Regions from separate parts of the Homo sapiens genome. Here regions 2, 3, 4, 5 and 6 are each linked to region 1. Evidence: promoter capture Hi-C in 16 types of primary human blood cells and fetal thymus (Javierre and others, 2016). All regions are on one chromosome and are shown on one strand. Each heading gives the region's core, a stretch centred on a gene start or on the middle of the fragment in contact. The rest is flanking DNA. Distances are from core to core; before and after follow the strand shown. Region 1 holds the start of OR5T2 (olfactory receptor family 5 subfamily T member 2). Region 2 holds the start of OR5D14 (olfactory receptor family 5 subfamily D member 14). Region 3 holds the start of OR5AP2 (olfactory receptor family 5 subfamily AP member 2). Region 4 holds the start of OR5M11 (olfactory receptor family 5 subfamily M member 11). Region 5 holds the start of OR5I1 (olfactory receptor family 5 subfamily I member 1). Region 6 holds the start of OR10AG1 (olfactory receptor family 10 subfamily AG member 1).

Evidence for each region. Contacts are between HindIII fragments. The CHiCAGO score rates a contact against its expected background, and 5 or more counts as called.
Region 2: a contact is called between the fragment with the promoter of OR5D14 here and the fragment with the promoter of OR5T2 in region 1, in 6 of 17 cell types (erythroblasts, total CD4 T cells, neutrophils and 3 more). The highest score is 7.9, in erythroblasts.
Region 3: the fragment with the promoter of OR5AP2 here is called in contact with the fragment with the promoter of OR5T2 in region 1 in 4 of 17 cell types (M2 macrophages, neutrophils, fetal thymus and 1 more); the score reaches 10.2 in M2 macrophages.
Region 4: a contact is called between the fragment with the promoter of OR5M11 here and the fragment with the promoter of OR5T2 in region 1, in 9 of 17 cell types (M2 macrophages, neutrophils, endothelial precursors and 6 more). The highest score is 10.0, in M2 macrophages.
Region 5: a contact is called between the fragment with the promoter of OR5I1 here and the fragment with the promoter of OR5T2 in region 1, in 4 of 17 cell types (M1 macrophages, activated CD4 T cells, endothelial precursors and 1 more). The highest score is 6.8, in M1 macrophages.
Region 6: a contact is called between the fragment with the promoter of OR10AG1 here and the fragment with the promoter of OR5T2 in region 1, in 2 of 17 cell types (megakaryocytes and non-activated CD4 T cells). The highest score is 5.2, in megakaryocytes.

Annotation. Positions count from the first base shown.
Region 1 is chr11:56,232,133-56,236,861 of GRCh38, reverse strand. OR5T2 (olfactory receptor family 5 subfamily T member 2) reads left to right here and starts at 2,607. Exons shown (of 2, transcript NM_001004746.4): 1 at 2,607-2,685; 2 at 3,598-4,729. The coding sequence starts at 3,800. The HindIII fragment of the contact is 5,726 bases long and covers 1-4,729 here.
Region 2 is chr11:55,793,204-55,797,932 of GRCh38, reverse strand. It overlaps OR5D14 (olfactory receptor family 5 subfamily D member 14), which reads right to left and starts at 2,377. Exons shown (of 1, transcript NM_001004735.1): 1 at 1,433-2,377. The coding sequence starts at 2,377. The coding sequence ends at 1,433. The HindIII fragment of the contact is 1,368 bases long and covers 2,308-3,675 here.
Region 3 is chr11:56,640,081-56,644,809 of GRCh38, reverse strand. It overlaps OR5AP2 (olfactory receptor family 5 subfamily AP member 2), which reads left to right and starts at 2,371. Exons shown (of 1, transcript NM_001002925.1): 1 at 2,371-3,321. The coding sequence starts at 2,371. The coding sequence ends at 3,321. The HindIII fragment of the contact is 8,469 bases long and covers 1-3,592 here.
Region 4 is chr11:56,541,438-56,546,166 of GRCh38, reverse strand. OR5M11 (olfactory receptor family 5 subfamily M member 11) reads left to right here and starts at 2,910. Exons shown (of 1, transcript NM_001005245.1): 1 at 2,910-3,827. The coding sequence starts at 2,910. The coding sequence ends at 3,827. The HindIII fragment of the contact is 1,332 bases long and covers 2,135-3,466 here.
Region 5 is chr11:55,934,068-55,938,796 of GRCh38, reverse strand. OR5I1 (olfactory receptor family 5 subfamily I member 1) reads left to right here and starts at 2,397. Exons shown (of 1, transcript NM_006637.1): 1 at 2,397-3,341. The coding sequence starts at 2,397. The coding sequence ends at 3,341. The HindIII fragment of the contact is 3,136 bases long and covers 1,828-4,729 here.
Region 6 is chr11:55,967,607-55,972,335 of GRCh38, reverse strand. OR10AG1 (olfactory receptor family 10 subfamily AG member 1) reads left to right here and starts at 2,391. Exons shown (of 2, transcript NM_001005491.2): 1 at 2,391-2,444; 2 at 3,829-4,729. The coding sequence starts at 2,429. The HindIII fragment of the contact is 3,009 bases long and covers 1,397-4,405 here.

The sequences.
Region 1 (4,729 bases), core at 1,358-3,857:
ATGTCATCTCATTCATAAGCTGGAGCTAAGCTATGAGGATGAAAATGCATGAGAATAAGCAAAAGAGATGAGGCTTGCCACACCATATGGGAGAGGGAGTTATTACTCAATTCAATCTCCTTGAAGGCTTGAAAGTTAGGTGCTTTTCAAAGATAGTTTGATGGGCAGAGGGCTAGGGTATGGGTGTTGCTGATCAGTTTAGGATGAATCATAGGGATGTGGAAAATGATCCTCATGTGTTGAGTGTGTTTCTGGGTGGGGGCCACATGACTGTTTGAGTCAGAGGTCCAGGTGGGGCCATCCAGCTATCAGATATACAAATATTTGAAAAGAATCTCAAAATGCCAATCTTAGGTTCTACAATAGCTATGTTATCTGCAGGAATAATTGGGGAAGCTGCAAATCTTGTGACTTCCAGGAAAAAATGGCTGGTAATCATTTTACTAGGCCTATATCTTAGCAGAACACAGACTCCTCTCATCCTCTTAACTTGGTGCCTTTGATTAGTTTTACAAAGGTGGTTTAGTTTTTGCAAAGGACTATTATCATTTAAACTATAAACTAAATTTCTCCCGAAGTTATTTGGTCCATGCCCAGAGATGAGCAAAGACAGACAGCCTGTGATGATAGAAGCAAGAAGAAGTCAGTCATGGCAGATTTCTCTTACTGTCATAATTTTGCGAAGGTGGTTTCAGAATTTCAGGATTGTATAGTAATCCTGTTTTTAATGTTTCAAGGAACTTCCATACTATTTTCAATCATGGCTGCACTGTTTTATATTCTTGTCAACAGTACACCAGGGTTCCAATTTCTCCACATTCTTATCAATACTTTTTTTTTTTAAATAATGGCCATAACAGGTGTGTGATGATATCTCATTGTGGTTTTGATCTGCAATAATTAAAATCTCCATATTACCCAAAGGGGTCTTCAGATTTAATGCATTTCCTGCAAAATCCTAGTGCTGGGTTTTACAGAAATAGAAAAAACATCGTAAAAATTATGTGCAATTACAAAAGACTTCAAATAGCCAAAGGAATCTTGAGAAAGAAAAACAAAGCTAGAGGTATTATACTTTTTTATTTCAATGATATTACAAAACTACAGTAATTAAATAGCATGGGACTGGAATAAGGACAGATATATAGACCAACGGAACAGAATAGGGAGCCTGGAAACAATCCCACATGTATATAGTCAAATGATCTTTCACAAGTGTGCCAAGAATACACAATGGGAAATTAAATTGGACCCTTGTCTTATACCATATAAAATAACCAACCCAAAATGGATTAAAAATTTAAACATAAAACCTGAAACTACAATTTCTAGAAGAAAACATAAGGAAAAACTTTAGGACCTTCAGCTTGGCAGTAACTTGTTGGATGTAACATAAAAATACAAGCAATGACATAAAAAGCCAAGTAACAAAACCAAAATTAGACAAGTAGGGCTACGTCAAAGTCAAAATCTTCTGCACAATGAAGAAAACCATCAGCCAAACAAAAAATATTTGTAAATGATATATCTAATAGGGGATTAATATCAAAATATATAAATTCAATAGCCACAATAACAATAATCTTATTTTAAAACTGGCAAAGGACTTGAATACATTTTTTTTCCAAAGAAGACATACAAATGGCCTTCAGATGTATGAAAAGATGTTCAACATCAGTAGTCATCAGGGAAATTCAAATCTGACACATTTTAAACAGAAGCCAAAGAACTCTATTGATTCAATAAGTAGGAGCATGCAGTGCCTTATTCCGGAATCATTTACTTTTTATTATTAAGTAAATCATCATGGTGCTATTTTGAAACAGAAGATAATTGGGGCATATTCCCCTTGGGACATCTCCTTGGATTTCATCAACAGTCAATTACAAAGATATAAACAATCTAAGTTAGCCATATTCATAGAATACCTAAATCTGCATTTGCTGTTCCACAGGTAAGAGAAAATTTCAGATAATTTGAAGAATATTTCGGCAGCTAGAACCTACAATATCAAGAATAACTATGTTTTTTTTTACTAAACTTTTTAGCTGCTAAACACCAAGAACTAAACACTTCAGTTCTGGACTATTACATATGTGAATCAAGTGTATTCATCAAAATATGATTTATTTAGAGTTATGCCTAAGAATTAAAATCCAACACTTACTAGAAAACAATAAAAAATAGAAAATATTGTATTTGTACTTATAGAGATAAATAAGAGTGCTCCTAATAGAGTATATGCTTGTATTTTTCTTATAGATAAAGATAGTTCAAAGGTCATGAATTTACCAATAAATATCAACAAAGGGCAAAAAAACATTTGACTTATTCATTTATCTGGGGTCTTGTATTTTGAAGTAATAAGGAAAACAATCAATACTTATTTTAAATTTATTTTCTGGCTTTATAATCTAGAAGTCACTTCAGATTGCTACTTATTTTATGTTTCTCTAGATTTAATGGCTTAAAAAATACAAATACATCGAGAATCATGTTTTGCTTTACCTTTATTTCCCTGAGGTCAGCAGAGGGGTAAGAGGAAGAGTGTTCCAGTTGCAGAATGAAGCCATTTATGAGGCCATGAAAAAATGCAAAAATTTCATGTACAATGAGAGAAACCTGGGATTGAATCTTGGCTCTGGAAATTGTTAGCTATGAAAGTTGCTATAAAGGTGAAATAAGGTAATGTACAAGAAATGTCTGTTCTTGCAGCAAGTGCTAAATAAATGCCTGTTATTTAGCAAACTTAGTGTTTCGTTATTACATTCACGATATTTAAAGTTTTCTCCCTTCCATTAAAATTTGTTTCATAAAAATAGATTTGCATTAATTTAAAAAGTTGATTCTATATTATTAAATCTTCAAGAATCATAGTGATTTTCTCTTTATAACTCTGAATCTTTGACTATGTGCTAATATTAACTTAATTTTTACCCAATATAACTTATTTTGGCATCTAGTAGAAATGCCTGTCTCACAAGAAATTTGGTTGAAGTATCTTATTTGCACAAAGCAAAATTAAGACAATTGTAATGTAGAAAATGGAATCATGGTAATTTGCATGTTTATTTTTGGCATAAAATGATCAAGTAATTCACAAAACTTCTTCATTCTCCAAAGAATAATTCAGAGACATTTGAATGAGCAGATGAAAAAAATCATAACTGTTCATTGGATTTAATCTTGATAGAATGTAGAACCAACTTAATTCAGCATATTCTATAATCAAAATTATTTTACATATTATATTTTATTAATGCAATTTTCCTTCAATATTTACTCCAATCTTGTGAACAAACTATTAATGTTCTCATTCTATAGACAAGTAGATATAGCAAATCATTTTGCACAATTGCTACAAGTTCTAAAATTCTGGTATTGTATTCCAATGCTCTGTCCCCTGATACAGTCTCTTGTGTATTTGGATGCCCAAAGATTGTTTAAGCCACTCATTTTTGTGTGTTTTAATATTATTTAATATATAAACAGCTTAATACAATTCAGTGGTAAATTAACCAGTAGACCTGATGATTTTAGAAACAGAATAAGTCCAGCCAACTAATGAACGTCCATTTCTTCCATTTGATTCTGCAGTGAGTGGCATGAACACATGGCTGACCAGTTTGTCACTGTCTTCTGATTCACTACTAGAGAATTATGCACTGCTGAATATATGTCGTACAGTATATACAAGAGCACAGTTAACATCCCCTTGAGTCATGGTGTTGTTCATTCTTTTTGTCATAATATGAACTGTAACTTTATGCATATCTTCAAGTTTGTTCTAGATTTCAACATGAAGAATGTCACTGAAGTTACCTTATTTGTACTGAAGGGCTTCACAGACAATCTTGAACTGCAGACTATCTTCTTCTTCCTGTTTCTAGCAATCTACCTCTTCACTCTCATGGGAAATTTAGGACTGATTTTAGTGGTCATTAGGGATTCCCAGCTCCACAAACCCATGTACTATTTTCTGAGTATGTTGTCTTCTGTGGATGCCTGCTATTCCTCAGTTATTACCCCAAATATGTTAGTAGATTTTACGACAAAGAATAAAGTCATTTCATTCCTTGGATGTGTAGCACAGGTGTTTCTTGCTTGTAGTTTTGGAACCACAGAATGCTTTCTCTTGGCTGCAATGGCTTATGATCGCTATGTAGCCATCTACAACCCTCTCCTGTATTCAGTGAGCATGTCACCCAGAGTCTACATGCCACTCATCAATGCTTCCTATGTTGCTGGCATTTTACATGCTACTATACATACAGTGGCTACATTTAGCCTATCCTTCTGTGGAGCCAATGAAATTAGGCGTGTCTTTTGTGATATCCCTCCTCTCCTTGCTATTTCTTATTCTGACACTCACACAAACCAGCTTCTACTCTTCTACTTTGTGGGCTCTATCGAGCTGGTCACTATCCTGATTGTTCTGATCTCCTATGGTTTGATTCTGTTGGCCATTCTGAAGATGTATTCTGCTGAAGGGAGGAGAAAAGTCTTCTCCACATGTGGAGCTCACCTAACTGGAGTGTCAATTTATTATGGGACAATCCTCTTCATGTATGTGAGACCAAGTTCCAGCTATGCTTCGGACCATGACATGATAGTGTCAATATTTTACACCATTGTGATTCCCTTGCTGAATCCCGTCATCTACAGTTTGAGGAACAAAGATGTAAAAGACTCAATGAAAAAAATGTTTGGGAAAAATCAGGTTATCAAT
Region 2 (4,729 bases), core at 1,128-3,627, 440 kb after region 1:
ACTAATTCTTTTTAACTAATGCTGAGACCAAGAATATTTATTAGCTTAGTTTCCTTCTTTTACTTTTTTTTAACAAAGCAAAAATTCTGGCTGGGTGTGGTGGCTCACGCCTGTAATCTCAGCAGTTTGGGAGGCCAAGGGGGGCAGATGACGAGGTCAGGAGATCAAGACCATCCTGGCCAACATGGTGAAACCCCGTCTCCACTAAATATACAAAAATTAGCCAGGCATGGTGGTGCACACCTGTAGTCCCAGCTACTCAGGAGGCTGAGACAGGAGAATCTCTTGAACGCAGGAGGTGGAGGTTGCTGTGAGCTGAGATCTTGCCACTGCACTCCAGCCTGGCAACAGAGTGAGACTGTCTCAAAAAAAAAAAAAAAGCAAAAATTCTTCATAGATGATTCTGACTACTGTACATTGCAGTCCATTGAGAAGCACATGGTAACTGGTTGATGATAACTGTTTGTCCAACTTTTAGTGATGATCATTCTGATCTCTGAATTCAGGTTGTGTCAACTTAGTTACTTCATCTTAAAATTATCCACAAACTTTTTGCCTAATGATTATTATGTCTGTTGAAATCATTACCTTTATTCATTTTTTAAATGTGGAGTTCTACAGTTGTGATTGTCCAATTTCATCCTTGTTTATGCTTTTATTTCTTCTGAAATTCACCTCATTAATCAGTAGGTGATGCTGACATACTATTCATATAGGAAAAATAGAATAAATATATATATTATTTAATTACTTATTTTCAGAGTAATGAATTGGTGCCCTAATATCCATTGATATTAAACAATGGCTTATTTATTTTTTTCTTTTTCAGTACCTAGATTTAAATCTATATGAGGACTTTAAATCAATTGTAATCAATATCCATTTTTATGTTTAAAAAGTTTTTTCTGACCATAAACCAGCATCAGCCATTTCAAATTGCTTCCTATATCTCTTTGAGACAATCTGATTAGCTGCTGATAGTATTCTATCTTTCTGGAGCATTAAATTGCCCAAAGCTCATCTTGCCTATTTTCCACCCTAGACTTCAAATTAGCCATTTCTCCAAGAAGCCCTAGTTTTGTTCCTAGGGGAAAGGTTTCTTTTTAGAGAAAATTTGGAGAATGTTGCTTGAATTTGTATAGTATTTGTTACCAAATATTTGTGTTTATTTAGTCATTCATATAAAAGTTAGAAATAATTTTGAAATATGGTTTCTCATTGTTTTCAGATTAAATGTTTATTTTCATTCATTTTGTATAAACTGGACTAAACTTGTAGAGATTTCTGAACCTGATAATACTGGGAATGCTATATCAATTCACATTTGACAATTCCATAAAAACCTCATATAAATATATGCTCTAGGCTTTAGAAACATTGTAGCCTCTGTTTGGGTTGTTCATTTGGATTGAAAACAACTTTTGAGACTGGTTCAGTGAAATGGAACTTGTGTATGTATTAACTTCCAGAAAGCATCCTTCACGTCTTTATTCCTTAGGCTGTAGATCAGAGGGTTCAGCATGGGGTTGACAACTGTGTAAAATACAGAGGCCACTTTGACTGTTTGCCGAGAGTTTTTGGAGTTGGGTACACAGTAAAGGAAAAGGATGGTCCCATGGAAGATGGTGATAGAAGTCAGGTGGGAGGCCCAGGTGGAGAAGGCTTTGTGGCGCCCACTAACAGAACGGATTTTTAGTACAGTCACAAAAATGAAAACATAGGAAGTGAGGATGATCAGTAGTGTACACATCTCATTGAAGGTGGCGAAGCTGAAAAGCAGCAGGTGGGGGATGAGTATATCAGAGCCAGACACAGAGATGAGAGCAGTATACTCACAAAAGAAGTGGTTGATTACATTAGGTCCAGAGAAGTTTAACCGGAGAGCATAACAAAGGAGTACCAAGGGGCCAAACATGCCCCAGAGATATGACCCAGCCACCAGCAGGGCACAGAGCCTCTGTGACATGGCCACTGTATAAAGCAGAGGATTGCAGATGGCCACAAAGCGGTCATAGGCCATCACTGCCAGCAAGAAAGACTCTGTCACCACAGCAGTGCAGGACAGGAAGTACTGCATCATGCAGCTAAAGTAGAAGATGCTTTTATCTGCCATTACCAAGTTCTCAAGCAGCTTGGGAGTGACAATGGAAGAGTAACAAAAATCAACAAAAGAGAGGTGACTAAGGAAAAAGTACATAGGAGTGTGAAATTTGGGGTTAATCTTGATTATTATGATCATCCCAAGGTTTCCTACCACTGTGATAACATACATGAGCAGAAACACAAGGAAGAGAGGAATCTGAAGCTTTGGGTAATCTGTGAAACCTAAAAGGGCAAAGGTGGGCTCCATGCTCAGATTCCTTAAAACCATCATCATAATTCCTTTTAATGGAAGGGTTGAAGAGAATTGTTCCTGCCAAAGCAAAATATGGGGTGAGTGATAATTATGTCATGACTTTCTTTGATTAAAAGGAAAAAAGGAGAAGGAATAGTTACTGGTCCTAGTTTTGTCCAAGAAGAACATACCTCATGCAGGCAGCTGTTATGTCTAAAACAAACCAAGCCAAGTCTTTGGAGTGTCTTTCCATTTTTATTACACTTTCTGTTTTCATACATATATATATGTGTGAATATATATGTGTATGTGTATGTGTGTGTATATGTGTACAGTAGTATACATGTCTACACATTAACTAGTAGCATGACATGCACATAACTTATAGAAAATGTTTATACATAAATATATAAACTAATAAAGATTCTGTGGAAAATGTAAAATATTTACATCAAACAACAACATGCATTGCTACTGTATTTGTTTATATAGACAAATTGATTAAAATATTCAGAATATATTTCTATTCTAAGGATAAAGGAAAATATTGTAGAAATCTGGAAAAAGAGCACACTAATTCCACTTTTTACCAACTTTTATTCTAGAAAGGCTACTTCTCTCATTGAATATCTTAGTTGCTGAGGAGTTGACAAGGACAATGGCCTACTTTTGACCTCTTGGTGGAATGGGCATTTTATTGGGGTTTATGACTTAAGGGTCAGCATCTACTATAGCTCAGGTATTGCATAAGTATCTTATAAGAGTCTCAAGATTTATCAGGTGAAAGTTCCCTTAAGCCTGACTAGTTTTCAATCTTATAAAAATTTACACACTAATTTAAGATGAATATAAAGGAAATATGGATAAATATCCATTTCCAAGTAGCAAGTTTATACTATTCATCATGAGATAATTTTCAATGGATATAAGGCTAAATATTTTCATGAGTGTTGACCTCATTTTTTAATATTATTGGGCACAGAATTGAATAACACAGTGATTTAACATTTAAAAAATCAAAGGCCCCATTTGCCGTATCAGGAAGACCCTATTTTCAGTTTCATAGAAAGCCTGAATACACTTACCTGCTACATACAAAGAAACAGGCTGCCACCCTCCTGTCTCTTCAGACAGTGTATACCTGAGGCACCAAGACTCTTTCATTTAACTTCATAGCCCTAGGGACTCAAACTCTGGAGAATCACTAACAACTTACTCTTTACAAGCATCAAAACAGGCAATTAAGGCAAATACCAAGTCTCTTGTGTCACATTTAGTGACTGGAATTTCCTTGAAACTACTCAGAAAAAAAAATGCAGCATGAAGTTAACTATCAAGCTTTGCTTGCATGTAATTCAAATTACAATAAAACTTTAAATACTTGCCTCATCTGTTCCAAAATTCAGTGCACCTCTTAGTGAGATATAATCTATCCTGCATGCATCCTGGGTATAAATATGCAGCAGCCAATAGCACTCCTATTCCTGAAAACACAAGTAAATTTCATAATCAAGTGCTACAGATGTCCGTGGCCCATACCTTGCTGTATTGCTTCTTCTTGCTCAGCCTGAATTTGTGTCTCATGGGGCATTCCCTATGGCAACCTGAATGTGGAAGAAAGCATAGGAGCCTCATTTTCAGATGATTCCCCATGATATGCTGGCCCACACAAAAGTGAATAACTGCAGGACTGTAATCCTACCTTAAGGTGGCCCTGAAAAGCAACAGTTAAAGACAAATATTCTAGTATTTACAAATTCAAAAAGTATGCTTGGAACATGAGGAACACCTTTTGAAACTTAGTTACAGGGCAGGTTCTTTGGCAATACCTTAGAAGGATGGAGTAATAGCCTCCTGAATATATTATATGCTTGAAATCTGCAACCAACATACATTGCTGTTCCTCCAATAATTTGTGAGACCTAGAACTTTCCCATAAGAGAAACCATGAGCTCTAAGGGTTTAGAGGTTTTATCTCCCAAGTGTGTCATGCTTCCACTAGAGAACACAGTGATTGATTCATTAAATTGGAATTGTGACTTGTTTGACCAAGAAAATATTGCAGGAGTGACGTGAGCATTCTGAGTTGAGGCATCAAAAGGCATTGCAGTTTCTTTCATTCTCTTCAAATGCTGCTCTGAGAACACCACATAATAAAACCATTGTACCCTACAAGCAGATGAGAAACTCCTTGGGAAAATACTGAGACACCACAACCAATGGCCAGCACCAAGTCAGGTAACAAGTGAGTGATGCTATCTTGGAAGCGTTAGCTCCATCAGAATCCCCAAGTAAGTTCAGCAACGTGAGTGAGCCCCAGTGAGACTGGAAGAAGAACCACCCAGTAAGTCCAGAGAATGGTGAGAAATATCAAACTGCCTTCAGCCACTAAGT
Region 3 (4,729 bases), core at 1,122-3,621, 410 kb before region 1:
CATAATTTAGCATCAAGAGGCCTACATTCTAGCTCAGGATTCACCACTGATTGGCTGAGAAACCCCCACACTTTGCTGGCCTCATCTAACAAAAGACTATATTACTTATACTCTTGGGATATTACCTGATAATTTCTTTCACTGATTTGTGGTAAGGCTTATATAAGATAATGGGTGCAATGACACTTTTCAAAATTGTTATGGAATTCTTTCAAAATGTCAGCTTTAATTATTGATTAGGGCATTGAGTCCCTATCTCAATGACAATTAGGTGGAGCCCAGCATAAATAGCTGCTTCTGTGTATGGCACTGTCTGTGATAATAGGACCAGTTGCTGCCCACTGTTTCCCTCACTGTTTTCAGAAACTTCTTTATCTTCAATGCTGGCAAGGGTACTGGGTCACTTTGACCCCGTTTGTGTGTGTGTTTTTTCTTTTTTTTTTTTTTGAGACAGAGTCTTGCTCTGTCACCCAGGCTGGAGTGCAGTGGCGCAATCTCGGCTCACTGCAAGCTCCGCCTCCTGGATTCACGCCATTCTCCTGCCTCAGCCTCCTGAGTAGCTGGGACTACAGGCGCCTGCCACCACGCCTGGCTAATTTTTTGTATTTTTAGTAGAGACAGGGTTTCACCGTGTTAGCCAGGATGGTTTCGATTTCCTGACCTCGTGATCCGCCCGCCTCGGCCTCCCAAAGTGCTGGGATTACAGGTGTGAGCCACCGTGCCCGGCCGACCCCATGTTTTAATTTAAACAGTATCAAATAACTTTTTTCTGTGAGTAGCAAAGGATATAACTCTGTCTTACCTTCTGAGCTATATTTTGACAGTTAGCCTAGTAAGTTTAAACTTTTGTTTAATAATCTGAGATCATGGAAGGGGTGGAGGATTTGCGTTAAATTGGAGGAGAATTCCGCTGGTGGTGTTTACATTTTGATTTGGAAGATCTAGTTTGGGCATCTATTCTGAATTTTCTTTTTTATTTCTTTTACTTTTCTTATCCTATGTTTGTCTTCATTACACCTTGCAAAGGGTGACTCTTATTTCCATTTTGATTACTTGGTATTAAATTATTCCCTTGATTAAGTATGGTGGCTGAAAAATTGCATGTGCTACTTCTGATGTTTTCTGGTTCTCTTGAGAACTTGTGAATGTGAGTATTAGAGATTTTCACTGGCTTGGCTACTTCTGCCATTTTTATCGGGGATGCCTACTCATTCTTACAATCTGATTCTCTAAATATTGGAATGAATTGTGGAAAATTACTATTTAACTGACCCTATTCTGTTCTCTGTAGATGTTTATTATGGAAAATCAGAGTGGGGTTCGAACTGTACTGGCTGTGTGGGAATATTCTCTATTTTCTTCTTTGGCCAGGCATTTTTAAGCTCTTCCTCTACCCCAAGAGATTCTGCTGTTTTTCTTTCTTTCTTTCTTTTCTCTTTCTTTCCTTCTCTCTTTCTTTCTTTCCTTTCTTTCTTTTTTCCTTCCTTCCTTCCTTCCTTCCTTCCTTCCTTCCTTCCTTCCTTCCTTCCTTCTCTCTCTCCTTCCTTCCTTCTTTCTTTCTTTCTTTGTTTCCTTCTTTCTTTCTTTCTCTTTTTTTTTTTTTTTTGGCACCGTCTCACTCTACTGCACAGGCTGGAGTGGTGCAGTGGTGCAAACCCAGCTCAGTGCAGCCTCAAACTCCTGGGGTCAAGCAATCCTCCCACCTCAGCCTCCTGAGTAGCTGAGACCACAGGGATGAGCCACCACACATAGCTTTTTTTTTTTTTTTTTTTAAATATTGCAGAGAGGAGATTTTGCCACATTGCCCAGGCTGGTCTTTAACTCTTGAGCTCAAGTGATCTGCCTTGCCTTGGTCTCTCAAAGTACTGGGATTACAGTTGTAAGCCACCAGGCCCAGCCCAACTATTTTTCTTGTCTGGCACTATAGATTAATTTTATTAACTTTCAATATTTTTATTCATTCTATTAGTACTGAGGAGGAATTGTAAGTGTCCTGAATTCATTCTATCATCCTTCTCCAGAAGTTGTGTCTGGAGGGTATGTCAGTATATATAAATTAATTTATTTATCACAAGTAATTATGACAGTCACATCTTAAGAATAAGTTATTTTAATTATTCAATAAAGAGTTAACTGTAGGAATGACCATAGTTAATACACACTAAATCACTTGCTTCAGTCATTAGTAGACAGCACATCTAGTACTACAAGTCTTTTGATTTGGCATCAAATCCAACATACCTTTTATTATGCTTTTCACTTTTTGCTCTTCTGTTAGAAGTTGTTTCACTAAAAATATATTATAGCTCCATCATGTATTCATCTGACTAAATTCCACTGTGCATCTTCTTTCTTATTGCAGCTCAAATGATGAGACTTATGAAAGAGGTTCGAGGCAGAAATCAAACAGAAGTAACAGAATTTCTCCTCTTAGGACTTTCCGACAATCCAGATCTACAAGGAGTCCTCTTTGCATTGTTTCTGTTGATCTATATGGCAAACATGGTGGGCAATTTGGGGATGATTGTATTGATTAAGATTGATCTCTGTCTCCACACCCCCATGTATTTCTTTCTCAGTAGCCTCTCTTTTGTAGATGCCTCTTACTCTTCTTCCGTCACTCCCAAGATGCTGGTGAACCTCATGGCTGAGAATAAGGCCATTTCTTTTCATGGATGTGCTGCCCAGTTCTACTTCTTTGGCTCCTTCCTGGGGACTGAGTGCTTCCTGTTGGCCATGATGGCATATGACCGCTATGCAGCCATTTGGAACCCCCTGCTCTACCCAGTTCTCGTGTCTGGGAGAATTTGCTTTTTGCTAATAGCTACCTCCTTCTTAGCAGGTTGTGGAAATGCAGCCATACATACAGGGATGACTTTTAGGTTGTCCTTTTGTGGTTCTAATAGGATCAACCATTTCTACTGTGACACCCCGCCACTGCTCAAACTCTCTTGCTCTGATACCCACTTCAATGGCATTGTGATCATGGCATTCTCAAGTTTTATTGTCATCAGCTGTGTTATGATTGTCCTCATTTCCTACCTGTGTATCTTCATTGCCGTCTTGAAGATGCCTTCGTTAGAGGGCAGGCACAAAGCCTTCTCCACCTGTGCCTCTTACCTCATGGCTGTCACCATATTCTTTGGAACAATCCTCTTCATGTACTTGCGCCCTACATCTAGCTACTCAATGGAGCAAGACAAGGTTGTCTCTGTCTTTTATACAGTAATAATCCCTGTGCTAAATCCCCTCATCTATAGTTTAAAAAATAAGGATGTAAAAAAGGCCCTAAAGAAGATCTTATGGAAACACATCTTGTAGAGCCATGTTACCCATCATTTGTTACGTAGAAGAAAATACATTTTCATGTTAACTGTATTCTCTGATTGTTTAAGCTGTTTCTCTGTGTTAAAGTAGATAATTTAAAATGAAGTATACTTTTTAATATCCTAGTATCTCATATATATATACACACACACACACGGGTCCCTTTGATGCACCAATACACTAGATGAAGGTTGGGACTGGAAAAAGTATCAAAACACTTGGAATTGGCTAATCTGGACTTAAGTTTTAATTTAAATATTAAGCTTATCTCAGTCTGAGTTTTATTATACAAACATTGGTGTCTTTGGGTTCTGGGCAAACAAACTGAGACAGAGAGATATTTTTAGGCAGAAAGTTTATCAGAGTGTTCTCACAAACAATATATAGTGAGGGGAGCAGGATTGGACAGAAGGAGTTGAATTGTGACGAAGACTGAGCCACTGTTACATGGCGTTCTGCAGAGATGTCCTTCAGAGATGTCCCAAATTAAGAAAAAAGGAACAAGTATTTGTACCTCCACAATAGCCAATTTTTGGACATGATCACCCACTGAGAGGGGGTAATATTATCTTGGACAAGGCAATTCCCTTCAGCAGGGGAAATTCCTGGAGTGTAGGTCAGCTATCAGCTGTCAGTGGCCTATATGCCTGGAAGCTGGGGAAATGAATACTTCAACCTGAGAGGCAAATCTGGGTAGTGTGGGCCGGGCGCGGTGGCTCACGCCTGTAATCCCAGCACTTTGGGAGGCCGAGGCGGGCGGATCACGAGGTCAGGAGATCGAGACCATCCCGGCTAAAACGGTGAAACCCCGTCTCTACTAAAAATACAAAAAATTAGCCGGGCGTAGTGGCGGGCGCCTGTAGTCCCAGCTACTTGGGAGGCTGAGGCAGGAGAATGGCGTGAACCCGGGAGGCGGAGCTTGCAGTGAGCCGAGATCCCGCCACTGCACTCCAGCCTGGGCGACAGAGCGAGACTCCGTCTCAAAAAAAAAAAAAAAAAAAAAAATCTGGGTAGTGTGCCACAGCATTCATAATAAATAATAACACTACTCTACCTACAAGTATGTCAAGAGGTACCAAATCAGATAGATGAATAAGTCTTATCAGGTATTATGATATTGTGGGAACCACAAGAATAATGGGGGAATATTTTACTGACTTTTGAATTAAACTGAATATTTTGTTGGTAGTAATCAATGTACTTCAACGTTTTATCTCTGCTCTTCCTAAAGGTTCACATAATTTTCAATAAATACTTATCAAAGAAAATTGTATCTGTATTGCTTATCATAGTGAGGAGGAAACTCTCAATGTTGGAGCAATGAGACAACAGCCTTCTGTGATGAGATGACATGTTGAAGGAAGTCTGTGTAATGATTTGGAGTTAGGTAAATGTCTAGTTC
Region 4 (4,729 bases), core at 1,661-4,160, 310 kb before region 1:
TAGACCCAGGAAATCTGAGACAGGTCTCAGTTAGTTTAGAAAGTTTATTTTGCCAAGGTTGAGGACACACCTGTGACACAGCTTCCAGAGGTCCTGAGGACATGTGTTGAAGGTGGTCATGGTACAGCTTGCTTTTATACATTTTAGAGAGACATAATCTATCAATCAATACATGTAAGATTTACCTTGGTTTGGTGCAGGACAACTCAAAGTCCAGGTTGGGGCAGCGTGGCGTGGCGTTTCCAGGCTGTAGGTAAATTTAAATATTTTCTGGTTGACAATTGGTTTGTCTAAAGACCTGAGATCAATAGAAAAGTCTGTGTTATGTTAATGCTGGAGAGGAATAATGAGGCATGTCCGACCCCCATTTCCCTTAACCGCCTGAACTAGTCTTTCAAGTTAAATTTTACAAGCCCTGGCTGAGGAGGAAGTCCCTTTATTTATTTTTGGTTTACACTTCTTATGATATCCTTCTTAGAAGTTTTCTTGCTACAGTTGTTGCCATAAACTTTACTTTTTTTTTTTTTTTGGTAGAACCTTACTCTGTCGCCAGGCTGGAGTACAGTGGCTGATCTCCGCTCACTGCAACCTCTCCATCCTGGGCTTGAGCAATTCTTCTGCCTCAGCCTCCGAAGTAGCTGAGATTACAGGCACGTGCCACCACACCTGACTGATTTTTGTATTTTTAGTAGAGATGGGGTTTCTCCGTGTTGGCCAGGCTGGTCTTGAACTCCTGACCTCAGGTGACCCACCCGCCTCAGCCTCCCAAAGTGCTCGAACTACAGGCATGAGCCATCCTGCCTGGCCAAACATTACTTTTTTAATGAGGTCTTCCTTGACTTTCCTTTCCCCAAAACTGTATTTCCTTTATTTTTCTCCACAACAGTTATTTGAATATTATTTATTTACTTGAAATAATAGCTCTCTCTGTCCACTAGAATGGGAAAACCAAAAAAAGCAGAAATTTTTGAAAGGTTTGTTCGCTTCTGCATCTATAGTGCCCAATCACACAAAATATTGAGTATCAGTAAATACTTGTTTCATGAATATCTATTTTGATGCCCAAAATGACATGAGAAGAGGAAAGATAAATATTATTATTTCCATTTACACATGGGAAAACACAGTGATTCATTCAGTTGCAAAGCTTTTAAATTACTGAAGTAACTCTGTAATCCAGGGCTCCTAACCAGCTCCTAACATCAAGATATGTCATAGCTTCTACTTGATATTTCTTAGATATATCACATACAGGTACTCAAGGGCACAAGTCAGTCACATAGTAGAACATGACTAAGTGTAAGGAGAATGTGTCTGGCACAATCCTGTTTATCATGGTGCACTATGTAAGAATGCCATGACTATCTGTGTCCCCAGAAGTTCCTTATCATCATATATCTCAAGGCCTTCCAGGTCTATACATACAATTTTATGAAACAGTTTAGCTTTAGAAAGGTGATATGTATTGCAGCAGCAGCTAATAAAGGAAGTTTTTAAAATACATAATTTTCAGTTCTTACCTCAGATTCTCAGATTGTATGCACTAGTAGTGTGACCTCGGTTCAATTATTTAACCTTTTTGTACGTTGCTTTTCTCAATAGTAACAGCAAGACAGAGTTTTGATTATAGGCATTCTAAAACTTACAGTAAAATAAATGAGGTGACTCATTTTGAGATGAGACAAGAATTGAGAAGCCTGTAATAAAAATTTCAAGTATGAAAGAATGGGCAAAAATTAAAAACTTCTCGAAAGAAAGGAAAATGTGAATTAGCAAAGATTCTGATGTGAAGAGAGGTAAAAAGCCAAAAGGATTTGTAATACCTCTTGTTAGATACAAGTTGTGATTAAAAGATTAAATACCAACTCTGAAAATATTAATTTATTTTCTTTCTAAACACATTAAGTCATTGCTCTAAACATCCTCAAGATACTATATGAAAATTTATTTTATTTCACAGTTCTTTGTTCATTTATTTGGCATATGTTTATTGAGCCATTCTGACTGTGCATTTTGAGCTATGATCTTGGAACACTTGCATTAGAATCCTACAGATAATCATTAGAGATGAAGATTCCAGTACCCCACATAAGAATTTCTGCAAAAACCTGTGATATGGGCTAATAAACAAGCTTCCCAAGAATTGCTTCTACACTAAGTTTCAATAATCACTTAATTCTCCTGAGAACATGACATCACGCAAGGCTACATGGAGATAAATCTGTGAGTAAAAATTGCAAGTCATTCATTCTTACATGCTCTCCTTTTTGCATTTTAAGAAAATTTAGTATAAAAATATGTGTTGAGAAGTATAATTAAAAAATGAACTTCACTTTGTCCCTGCTCTCAACACCATTATGTGATGAGAAAGTATATACTTTATAATGATACAATGGGGGCTAAATAATAAATTAGAGAAATATAGAATACTCTGGAAATAAAGAAGAGAGAATTCAGTGACACGTATTAGGAGAAATGGATGAGAAATGCTTCACAAAGAAGTGGCCTTTAAAGTGGGTCATGTAGCATGAATAGAATTAGGTTTTAAAAAGTACAGGAAGATAGAAGAGATGTAGCTCAGTCATATAGATAGATAGATAGATAGATAGATAGATAGATGATGGATAGATAGATACAGGTGTAGGTATAGATATATCTATAGGTGTAGAGAAAGAATATATTAGTAATGTAATGCCTAGGCAAATGATATAATGACATTGTAGACTTACAAAATTATAGTAAGTCTACCATAATTACCAAAACCAGTTTATGGTAGTACCCAGAAATAGATAACTTTCGATGATATATGAAGATGTGGAGAAAAACTAATTCAAATGAACATTAACATGGTATGTGCATTTGTTTATATTGGCTTTATTTCCATAGCTTGAAGAGCAAACTGTCAGGAAATGTCCAACACAAATGGCAGTGCAATCACAGAATTCATTTTACTTGGGCTCACAGATTGCCCGGAACTCCAGTCTCTGCTTTTTGTGCTGTTTCTGGTTGTTTACCTCGTCACCCTGCTAGGCAACCTGGGCATGATAATGTTAATGAGACTGGACTCTCGCCTTCACACGCCCATGTACTTCTTCCTCACTAACTTAGCCTTTGTGGATTTGTGCTATACATCAAATGCAACCCCGCAGATGTCGACTAATATCGTATCTGAGAAGACCATTTCCTTTGCTGGTTGCTTTACACAGTGCTACATTTTCATTGCCCTTCTACTCACTGAGTTTTACATGCTGGCAGCAATGGCCTATGACCGCTATGTGGCCATATATGACCCTCTGCGCTACAGTGTGAAAACGTCCAGGAGAGTTTGCATCTGCTTGGCCACATTTCCCTATGTCTATGGCTTCTCAGATGGACTCTTCCAGGCCATCCTGACCTTCCGCCTGACCTTCTGTAGATCCAGTGTCATCAACCACTTCTACTGTGCTGACCCGCCGCTCATTAAGCTTTCTTGTTCTGATACTTATGTCAAAGAGCATGCCATGTTCATATCTGCTGGCTTCAACCTCTCCAGCTCCCTCACCATCGTCTTGGTGTCCTATGCCTTCATTCTTGCTGCCATCCTCCGGATCAAATCAGCAGAGGGAAGGCACAAGGCATTCTCCACCTGTGGTTCCCATATGATGGCTGTCACCCTGTTTTATGGGACTCTCTTTTGCATGTATATAAGACCACCAACAGATAAGACTGTTGAGGAATCTAAAATAATAGCTGTCTTTTACACCTTTGTGAGTCCGGTACTTAATCCATTGATCTACAGTCTGAGGAATAAAGATGTGAAGCAGGCCTTGAAGAATGTCCTGAGATGAAATATTGTCATGACCATGGTGATGCCTTTGTTTCCTAATAAACATTAAATCGAAATCTTTGGCTCACATGTCCTAGCGTTCTGATGGTGAGTTTTAATATTCTCTGTGAGTCTATGTTGAGTGTCTCAGCTAAAAAGCTCATGCTGGGTAAAAATGAGATTTTTCTAGGCTTTGCTCCTCCACATATATTCCATGAATCAGCAGCATGAGCTCTTCCTTGGAGGTTGTTACACGTACAGAATCAAAGTCTGCACCTCAGGTGCACTGTATTTAAATATGTGTTTTATCCAAACTCCTAGATGATTGATAAGCACACTGAATTTTGAGGAGCACTGCTGTGGGTGAAACGTGGCATGCCCTGGAACACTGTTGTGCTCTTTTTGTTTACAATGGCAAACAAAATAAATGTGCTCCCAGCCCAATTTCTTGAATGTATTCTATTCTTATTCTCGCCTGCTGCTTCAGCAGAGATGTCTTTAAGAAACCCATTCTTCTGCACTCCAAGAAATCCATTCTTCTGTACTCCTTTCCTGACTTGCTGTGGTAGACCAGAAACTAGGGGCCATGGTGATGGCTTCTGGTTTTTATAAGTGCTCTTACATAGTGAAGAGTGGCAATGGAAAAAGAGGGGAAGAGAATGATTGTACTTTTCTTAAACTTGAGTTTATGGATCCAGCTCTCTGAGTTACATAAACCCACCTTCCCATTCTGAGCCTCCAGTGTATGGAGGTCACTTTCTGTTTCGCCTGATTTTGAAAAATTTAAGCAGGCTGATCTGAGAATAAGGACTAAAATTAAAATGGGAAATGAAAGAACCGAGTAAACAATAGGTCATACGATAGAGTATCCACCTTGCTTTGAATATTCCTTCTATTTGTAATTAAGTTTAGGTAAGTAATGTT
Region 5 (4,729 bases), core at 1,148-3,647, 300 kb after region 1:
ATTTTATAACATAAGATTGTTTTGTTATGTTTGGAAAGAACTTATTGAATCATAGTATGTTAGTAAGATTTATTTGTTAATTCCCTTTTAAAAAGAAGAATCCAAGAATCACTGTCTTTTCCTACCACTATCCTCATGCCTCTTCTCTTCCTTTTAATATTTCTCTAAATAGAATTTTTTGACTATCAGAAGGAATGACCAATGTGAAGTTGCCAAGAATACATGCCCCACATTTTTGGGAAGTATGCGAACCATAGAATGGTCATACTGTTAATATTCTCCCCGTCCTCATGCTTGCTTTCATGGGCTTTGATTTCATACACCCCTGAGTTTGAATTGCACTGGTCAACTACATGTTGAATGACCTTGAGATACTATCCTAAGCATTAATGTTCTCATCCAAAATATGGAGCTAATAAAAAGAATCCTGTTTATAGAGAACCAGTGTATCATGTGGCTTTGGAGTCAGAATTTTGGGTTCTAATCCTGTTTCCATCACATCCTAAATCTCAAATTCTCTCTTTCTTAGTTTCCTTCATCTGTAAGAAAAAGATCATAATGATAGTAACTCCATGGTAATTTTGTTAGTTTTTTGGTGACAATTAAATGAGTTATAGGTGAAGTGTTAAGAATATTGCATTACACATAGTAAGCATTATACAGGTGACAATTATTGTTAGTAAAATTTGACAGGTAGCTCTAGTCATAATCTAAGAATAAAATGGCAGCGTGGCAATCAAAACTAATTTTTGATGTTATCTACTGTATGTCAGTCTCCCTAAAGAATGACACATGGAAAGATAAGTAGGTAGATAAAGGGACAGAAAGGGGGGGCAGAACATTTTCCCTATTTAATCCATACAGAAACACTATGAGATATTTATTATCATTGTTGTAGTATAGATTAGGATAATTTATATTAAGTGGCACAAGGTCACACAGCCCCCATGCAGCCAAGATGGGCATCTAATCAAATTCCTCCTAAATCGAAGTGATGTCTTATATTGTCTAAATACCTTGACTATTTTCAAACAAGCAAAATGAGAATAACCACTGTCCTGCTGTAGTGCTGCATCTCATTCACACGCTTTGAGGTGATAACATAAGGCAGCACTTTGAGCACGTGATTAACCCTTCTGATTATCAATAGGCTTCTCAGTGTTTATGTCATTGGGTAGTTTTATTGCTTACATGAGATAAATAAATTGTCTTTAGCACTGTCATTGTCATAATATCTATTATGTAAATGAGGCAGTGACTCAAATATTTTTAATTCCCATCTTGGCCCTCTCAACATGAACTTTAGAGATTGATGCTTTGCTTGCTTTTTTTTGTTGTTGTTTTGTTTTTTACGTATTTCCAAGTCTATCCTTCATGGTCAAAATCAAATTATTTGTACTTCAAAGTCAAGTTAAAAATTTTTATAATTCTGTAAGTATTTTGAGACCTCAGAAGCAGTGTTTAACAGATTTTTCTGACTCAACACTTTGTATTATACTACCATAACAATAAATGCAACAATTGTTCTTTACTTATAAAATTTAATCAGTGATGATGCCATATATAGTAATGTTATTTAATTGCAAGTTAACATATAACTAAATGTTTTGCTGACTGTACTTGGTCAGTCCACTAATGTTTAATGAGCATTTCCAGGAAGCCAAGGAGTTCGATAAATGCCAGAAGTATTGAAACAAGTAGTTAACTAATTTTATCAGCTTAGTTTAGTATGTGAACAGGGTTTATGGAATTACACTAAGCTCTTTTCTGTCAAAAATATCCTCAGAGCTGGTATTTACTGACATTTGTTTTTATTTCGCTAAAGCTTCTGCTTTACAGTAAAAAAAAAATTAGCCGGCATATTTCATCACACCACTCTATTTACTCAGTCAAGAGACACAGCATACCGGTATCTATCAAATCCTGAAAACAAGAAGCAGATGTTCTAAAATTCTTATTCAAAGGAACACTCTATAAGTCAGTCCATTTTTAATAATATACATATTTTCTTTACTTAATGTGATCATCAGTCTGTTCATTAATTTATTACTTTTTTAATACTCTGGGCCAGTAATTGTTTAATATTTTGGGTGCAAAATGGTAAGCCAAATCAGACATGATCCATGCACATAGGAAGTCAACTGTTCAATGGAAGAAATAGTAATCAAATAAAATATAACCTGCAACCATGAAATATGATATTACTAAATTCTGAAATATATTTCTCAGAGTTTATAGTTCAAAAAAGTTTGAGCTTGCTTTCTTTATCTTATTGCCATTTATTTATTTTTAAACAATAAAATAACTTTATAATTACATCTAATTATTTTTCTTTTTTCATCATTATAGCATTGTAGGGTATTAGAAATTCTCATAAAAGGAAAACAACACAGAAGATGGAATTTACAGATAGAAACTACACGTTGGTCACTGAGTTTATTCTATTAGGTTTTCCAACTCGCCCTGAACTGCAGATTGTCCTGTTCCTCATGTTTCTGACATTGTATGCTATAATTCTGATAGGGAACATTGGATTGATGCTGTTGATCAGGATTGATCCTCACCTTCAAACCCCCATGTATTTTTTCCTTAGCAACCTATCATTTGTAGACCTTTGCTATTTCTCAGACATTGTTCCCAAAATGCTGGTCAATTTCCTCTCGGAGAACAAATCTATTTCCTATTATGGGTGTGCCCTGCAGTTTTATTTTTTCTGTACTTTTGCAGATACAGAATCCTTCATCCTGGCCGCCATGGCCTATGATCGCTATGTCGCCATCTGTAACCCTTTATTGTACACAGTTGTGATGTCTAGGGGCATCTGTATGCGGTTGATTGTCTTGTCATACCTTGGAGGCAACATGAGTTCCCTGGTTCACACATCCTTTGCCTTTATTCTGAAATATTGTGACAAAAATGTTATTAATCATTTTTTCTGTGACCTCCCTCCCCTGCTTAAACTATCCTGCACTGACACAACAATTAATGAGTGGCTCCTCTCCACATACGGCAGCTCAGTGGAAATCATTTGTTTTATCATCATCATCATCTCCTACTTTTTCATTCTTCTCTCAGTCTTAAAGATCCGCTCTTTCAGTGGGAGGAAGAAGACCTTTTCTACATGCGCCTCTCACCTGACTTCAGTGACGATCTACCAAGGGACTCTCCTCTTTATTTACTCACGGCCCAGCTACCTGTATTCTCCAAACACTGATAAAATTATCTCAGTGTTCTACACCATTTTCATTCCAGTGCTGAATCCGTTGATTTATAGTTTGAGAAATAAAGATGTAAAGGATGCAGCTGAGAAAGTTCTAAGATCAAAGGTAGATTCTTCATGAGATAAAGCATCTCAAGATACATCTAATTTCTCAATCACATACTGTAATTGGGAACTTACAACAACCTTACCTGTACACACACACAACCTCTCACACTAGGGATTTTATCAAGCACTTTGTTTAATGCAGCCAAATGAATTTCATAGTCCTAAAATATTTTTAAAATCATTTAAAAGTTTCAAAGTTCCTGCTAAATGCTAGTTATACTACTTTTCAGTTATTACTAGCTTGAGATTTATGCTAAAATCAATTTCATCAAGCCATCTTAAGGGATATAGTAAATATTTCAGAAAAGTATGCATGCATGTACATGTGCGTATCTATCTGTAGAATATCTCAGTTATAAGTGTAGATTACTGGATAACTGGATAAGAAAATAAGTCAGATTGCTTTGATTTATATGCCAGATCTATACTTGGCTAGTGAGTGGCATATTGAATGAGTTGCTTAATTTTTCTATGCCTCATTTATCTGTAAAATGGGATGAATATTGCACATATGCTATTGATTGTTTGATGGTGAACAGAGTTAATACAGTTAAGAGCTGAGAATAGTGCCTGGACATTATATACACTTACATGTTTGTTATAAGATATGTTTTTATAATATCTCACACTAATTAAAATGCATGTAATAAAATAAGATGATAGAGGCTAGAATGTTAGAAAAGCAATCATAAAAAGCCAAATAATATTTTTTAAAATGCAGGTGATAACATGTTGATAACTTTCTACATCCAATGTATCATAAAGCAATTTGGAAACATTTTCTTAGTGGCTTGAGCAATATAGGTTAATTGCAATGCAAAATATTTGTTTTACTATCTCTTGTTTTTAAATACACCAATGTGTTACTGAATGTGAGGAACGTTCTTTGCTGGAATCTCAGAAAAAGAATACTATCTCTAATTTATTACACTATCGTAATTGTATCCTCATAGGGAGATCAATCCAGTACTGTGGTAGAAAACCATGCATGAAATGTGTGTTTGAAAATTCTAATTGAAGGATGTGTAGAAGTATGTGTATTATTACAAAATGTATTTCTGTAACTAATATTGTGTGCTGCAAATCATTATTATGTATGATAACTGTTTACAAGCTATGAAATGGAAATATGAAAGTTTACAGTTATGCAAGCATGTATCATTTTATTTCATTTCACAGATATTGTTTTTTTCTTCACAAATTAAAAGTTCAGGACCACACTGTGTTAAGCAAGTCTACTGGCACCAGTTTTCCAACATTATGTTCTCATATCATGTCTCTGTGTCACATTTTGGTAATTCTTACAATGTCTCAATCTTTACATTATTATTTTATCTATTGTGAAGATCTGTGATCAGTGATCTTTGATGTTACTATTATCATTATTTAGGGGCACAATGG
Region 6 (4,729 bases), core at 1,142-3,641, 260 kb after region 1:
TTACAGGCATGTACCACTACACCTGGCTAATTTTGTATTTTTAGTAGAGATGGGATTTCTCCATGTTGGTCAGGCTGGTCTCGAACTCCTGACATCAGGTCATCCGCCCTCCTCGGCCTCCCAAAGTGCTGGGATTACAGGCTTGAGCCACAGTGCCTGGCCCTCACCCAGGTATTAAGCCTAGTACCCAATAGTTATTTTTTCTGCTCCTCTCCCTCCTTTCATTCTCCATCCTCAGGTAGGCCCTCCATGTGTCCATGTGTTCCCATCACTTAGCTCTCACTTTTAAGTGAGAGCATGCAGTATTTGGTTTTCTGTTCTTGAGTTAGTTCGCTAAGGATAATGGCCCTCAGCTCCATCCATGTTCCTGCAAAGGACATAGTCTTCTTTTTTAATGGTTTCATAGGATTCCATGATGTATACGTACCACATTTTCTTTATCTAGTCTACCACTGATGGACATATAGATTGATTCCATGTCTATGCTATTGAGAATAGTGCTGCAATGAATGTATGTGTGCATGCATCTTTATAATGGAATGATTTCTATTCCTTTGGATCTAGAGCCAGTAATGTGATTATGGGGTAGAATGGCAGTTCTGTTTTTACCTCTTTCAGGAATCGTCACACTGCTTTCCACAATGGTTGAACTAATTTACACTCCCATCAAGACACTGTAAGTGTTGCCTCTTCACTGCAACCTCACCAGCATCTGTTATTTTTTGACTTTTTAATAATAGTGATTTTGACTGGTGTGAGATGGTATCTATCTCATTGTGGTTTTGATTTGCATTTCTCTAATGATCACTGGTTAGTGATGGAAAGTTTGATTTGCATTTCTCTAATGATCACTAGTTAGTGACCATTAGACCCGCTCAGGGAGGGACGGGCCCACAAACGCTCCGAGGACAACGGCTCTGCAGCAGGGCCAAAGGTGCACTCACTCCGGGAGCAGTGGCACACAGGATGTATGGGCACACTCACAGTGGCAGGGAAGGGAAGGCAATGTCCTCTGGCACACACACTCACTGGCAAAGGGATGCTGGTATTAGTGTTTTTATAATTAGCATAAATAATAGGAGAGAGACATAAATAGGGGGTGGCTATGGGTGAGTGAGTGCAGGCAAAGTGGCCCGAGAGGCTGCAGTGCAGGGAGGGTGCTGGTGGGCTGGCCTGTGTCTGCACAGGCTACTCTGCTGGATCAGTCTGCTGGTCAGCCGGGGGTCCACCAGCACAGGAGCTATGATGTGGCCCCCAGGAGGTACCTGGCTGGGGGCCAAGCTGGGACCCAGGAGAGGCCAGCAAACTGAGTGGTGCTGAAGTTAGAATAGCCTCATGTAGTGGGTGAGACTGCCGTGCAGAATTCAGGTCCCATAGTTCCCATAGGGCTAAAGCTTCCTACGGGAGCAGGTCAAGCCTGGGGGGATGGGCATCCCTGGCCATGCTCCACTACAGACACTTTCACACTAAACCCTCTGGATTCCACACAGGCTGGAGTTCTGCCCCTACCACTTGTCTAAGCATCTCTCCCTGCCAGTTCAAGTGTTACTTGTGGTCCAGGGGTTTTCTCCTGCTGGGATTCGGAGGCTCATGGAAAGAGAGGGTTGCTCCTTGCCCATTCAACTCATGCTTTTGCAGGAGTCACTGGGGGCCAGGAATGCTTCCTGTGTGTGGTACCCCCATGCAGAATTCCTTTCCTTCTGAAGATTTGCTAGGAGTGCACCAATCTTCCTGATGTCCTGGTCCCTCGTGGGCGATGTTCCTCTTGACTGCGTCTAGTGGGACGTCTTGGAGTGGTATATTACATTTTCAATCAGCTGGATACATTTCCCTGGTGCCTTATAGACAACACAGAATGAAATAAATGTATAGATAGATTTTCTCAGCAGAATTAACATGTTTTAATATCCACAAAAAAAGTTAACCTAGGAACAGAGGGTTCCACATCTGAAAAAGAATCTCACCGTTCAATATGTCGAAGACATCAAGCATATCATGTTCGTGTGATTAAACACATGATATATTTTTTAAAGGTCTAGTTAATTTGGATCTGGATAAATTATTGGAATAGAAGTAAGGCAGACAAATCCACACTAAGTATTAGGGGCCTCAAATACACAGTTGGAAAATTTTTAACTTTTTCCTGAAAGTAATACTAGACAACTAAATGGTATTTAATTAACTCCCCTCATGAGGAGATGAAGAGGAGGATAAGTTTACTTAAAGTAGTTTTGAAAAATGAATCAGAATGATTGACAAACAGAAGCAGCCTTCTAGAAATTAAACTGATACTCAAGAGAAGACACATCCCAGGTTGAGTCTGACTATTCCTATATAAGAGCTGTTGCTGTTTGAAACAAGCAAGCGTATTGCAAAATTACAGTTCCCGAGAAAAGGAAGAGCTTAAAAAGTCTGTACAGACAGCTTCATGCAAATCCCTAAAGGTAAGCCATAATTGGGTTGACAGACTATTTTATTTAAGAATAGTTACAAGTTTGTGGATAGAAATGCAACTAATAAAACAGAAAAGCATGAAATTTTGAGACCTTTATCTGAAAATTAATTATTTAACATTTAAATCATGTATCTCTTCACTACAAAGTTAAATAAAATTAGATGTCCAATAATGGTAAAATTGCATTAGTGATGAAAAGTCATTTAAGGCAATTTTGAAAACTAGTACTAATAGAAATGTATAAATATGAGATAGTATTTGTCTGATCACTTTCATTTATCAACGTATTAAGTCAAATGCATTGGCTGACCGGGCTAAAATAGGTATAGGTGCAGCAGATTTGAAGACACAGAAAAAAAGAATTTGTTTAGAAAGTTGGAGAACAAACGTTAAGCAAGTGTAATGGGAATTGACAAGCAGTGATTTCCTCATATTGGATGACATTGACATGAAGTGAAGCAAGACAGTGTGTTTTTGTTTTGTTTTGTTTAATTTTTTGGTCCCATTTATATGCTCTGGCCACTTAGATGGCCAGAGTAAATGTTAGCTGGGTTTAATCAAAGAATTTTACTTTAATAAGGCAACAGGATGAAGGGAAAATAGAGAGAAGGAATTGTATTTGGTTGAAAGGAACTGTATTTGGTTATATGACAATGGAGAAATTCACTTAGATAAAAAAAAGAAATGTAAAAAAAATTGTGATGAATTTCTACATCTTGATTAAGTTATAATTTAATTACTATTTAGCATTCACTGTATTCAGGGCAATAACAGGGGAAGTCAATAAACTGCCTACTGGTATTAGTGTTTTTATATTTAGCATAAATAATAGGAGAGAGACATGAAGTAGAGCAACAATAATGCATGTATTTAGTCTCTCAGTAACCAAGAAATTGTTTAAGATAATTGATTCTCACTGGTGCATAAAAGGAAAAGTTTAAAATTCATTTTGAGTATGAATTAATCGTAATATTCAAGGGCAACATTTTGAATTAAAAAAACTGGAATATGACTACCAATACAAAGAAAAATGATATTCTCAGATGAAATAGTAAAAGCCTACACTATAACTCTACTCTTAAGTGTGAAATAATAAGATGTTATTCCTCCATAATATTTTCTAAACAACAATGCATGCTTCTCAATGCCTCTGGTTGCATTATATCCCAGTATAATAAAATATATTGAGGTTTCATTTCTTAAATTGATTTTAATGCTAAATCAGTTTATTATCTAGAAACAGAGCAAGTACTGGTGAAAATGACTTAAGAGCTTAAGTAAGTATATTCCTGTATCTCATTTAGTTAACCCAAGAGGAAAATATTGTTCAAAATATGGATGAATTAACTGTCTTGAATTTGCTATATCTGCAGATGGAGAGCAAACTAAAAGAGAAAAATCAAATGTGACTACAATAATGGAATTTGTTCTTTTGGGGTTTTCTGATATTCCCAATCTCCACTGGATGCTTTTTAGTATATTTTTACTTATGTATTTGATGATCCTGATGTGCAATGGCATCATAATACTACTAATAAAAATTCACCCCGCTCTCCAGACTCCCATGTATTTTTTTCTTAGCAATTTTTCCCTTTTGGAAATCTGTTATGTAACAATCATTATCCCAAGAATGCTCATGGACATTTGGACTCAGAAAGGAAATATTTCTTTGTTTGCTTGTGCTACACAAATGTGTTTTTTTCTTATGCTTGGAGGCACGGAGTGTCTCCTTCTGACAGTGATGGCCTATGACCGCTACGTGGCTATTTGTAAGCCTTTGCAGTATCCTCTAGTGATGAACCACAAAGTCTGCATTCAGCTGATAATAGCTTCCTGGACCATCACAATTCCTGTAGTAATTGGGGAAACATGCCAAATTTTCCTTTTGCCCTTTTGCGGAACTAACACAATTAATCATTTCTTTTGTGACATCCCGCCAATACTCAAGCTTGCTTGTGGAAACATATTTGTGAATGAGATAACAGTCCATGTAGTAGCGGTGGTGTTTATCACGGTGCCATTTCTGTTGATTGTTGTCTCTTATGGCAAAATTATCTCCAACATTTTGAAATTGTCATCAGCCAGAGGAAAGGCTAAAGCCTTCTCCACCTGCTCATCTCACCTAATAGTTGTAATCTTATTCTTTGGAGCAGGTACTATCACTTATTTACAGCCCAAACCACATCAGTTTCAAAGGATGGGGAAACTGATTTCTCTTTTCTACACCATTCTGATTCCAACTTTGAATCCTATTATATATACCCTGAGGAACAA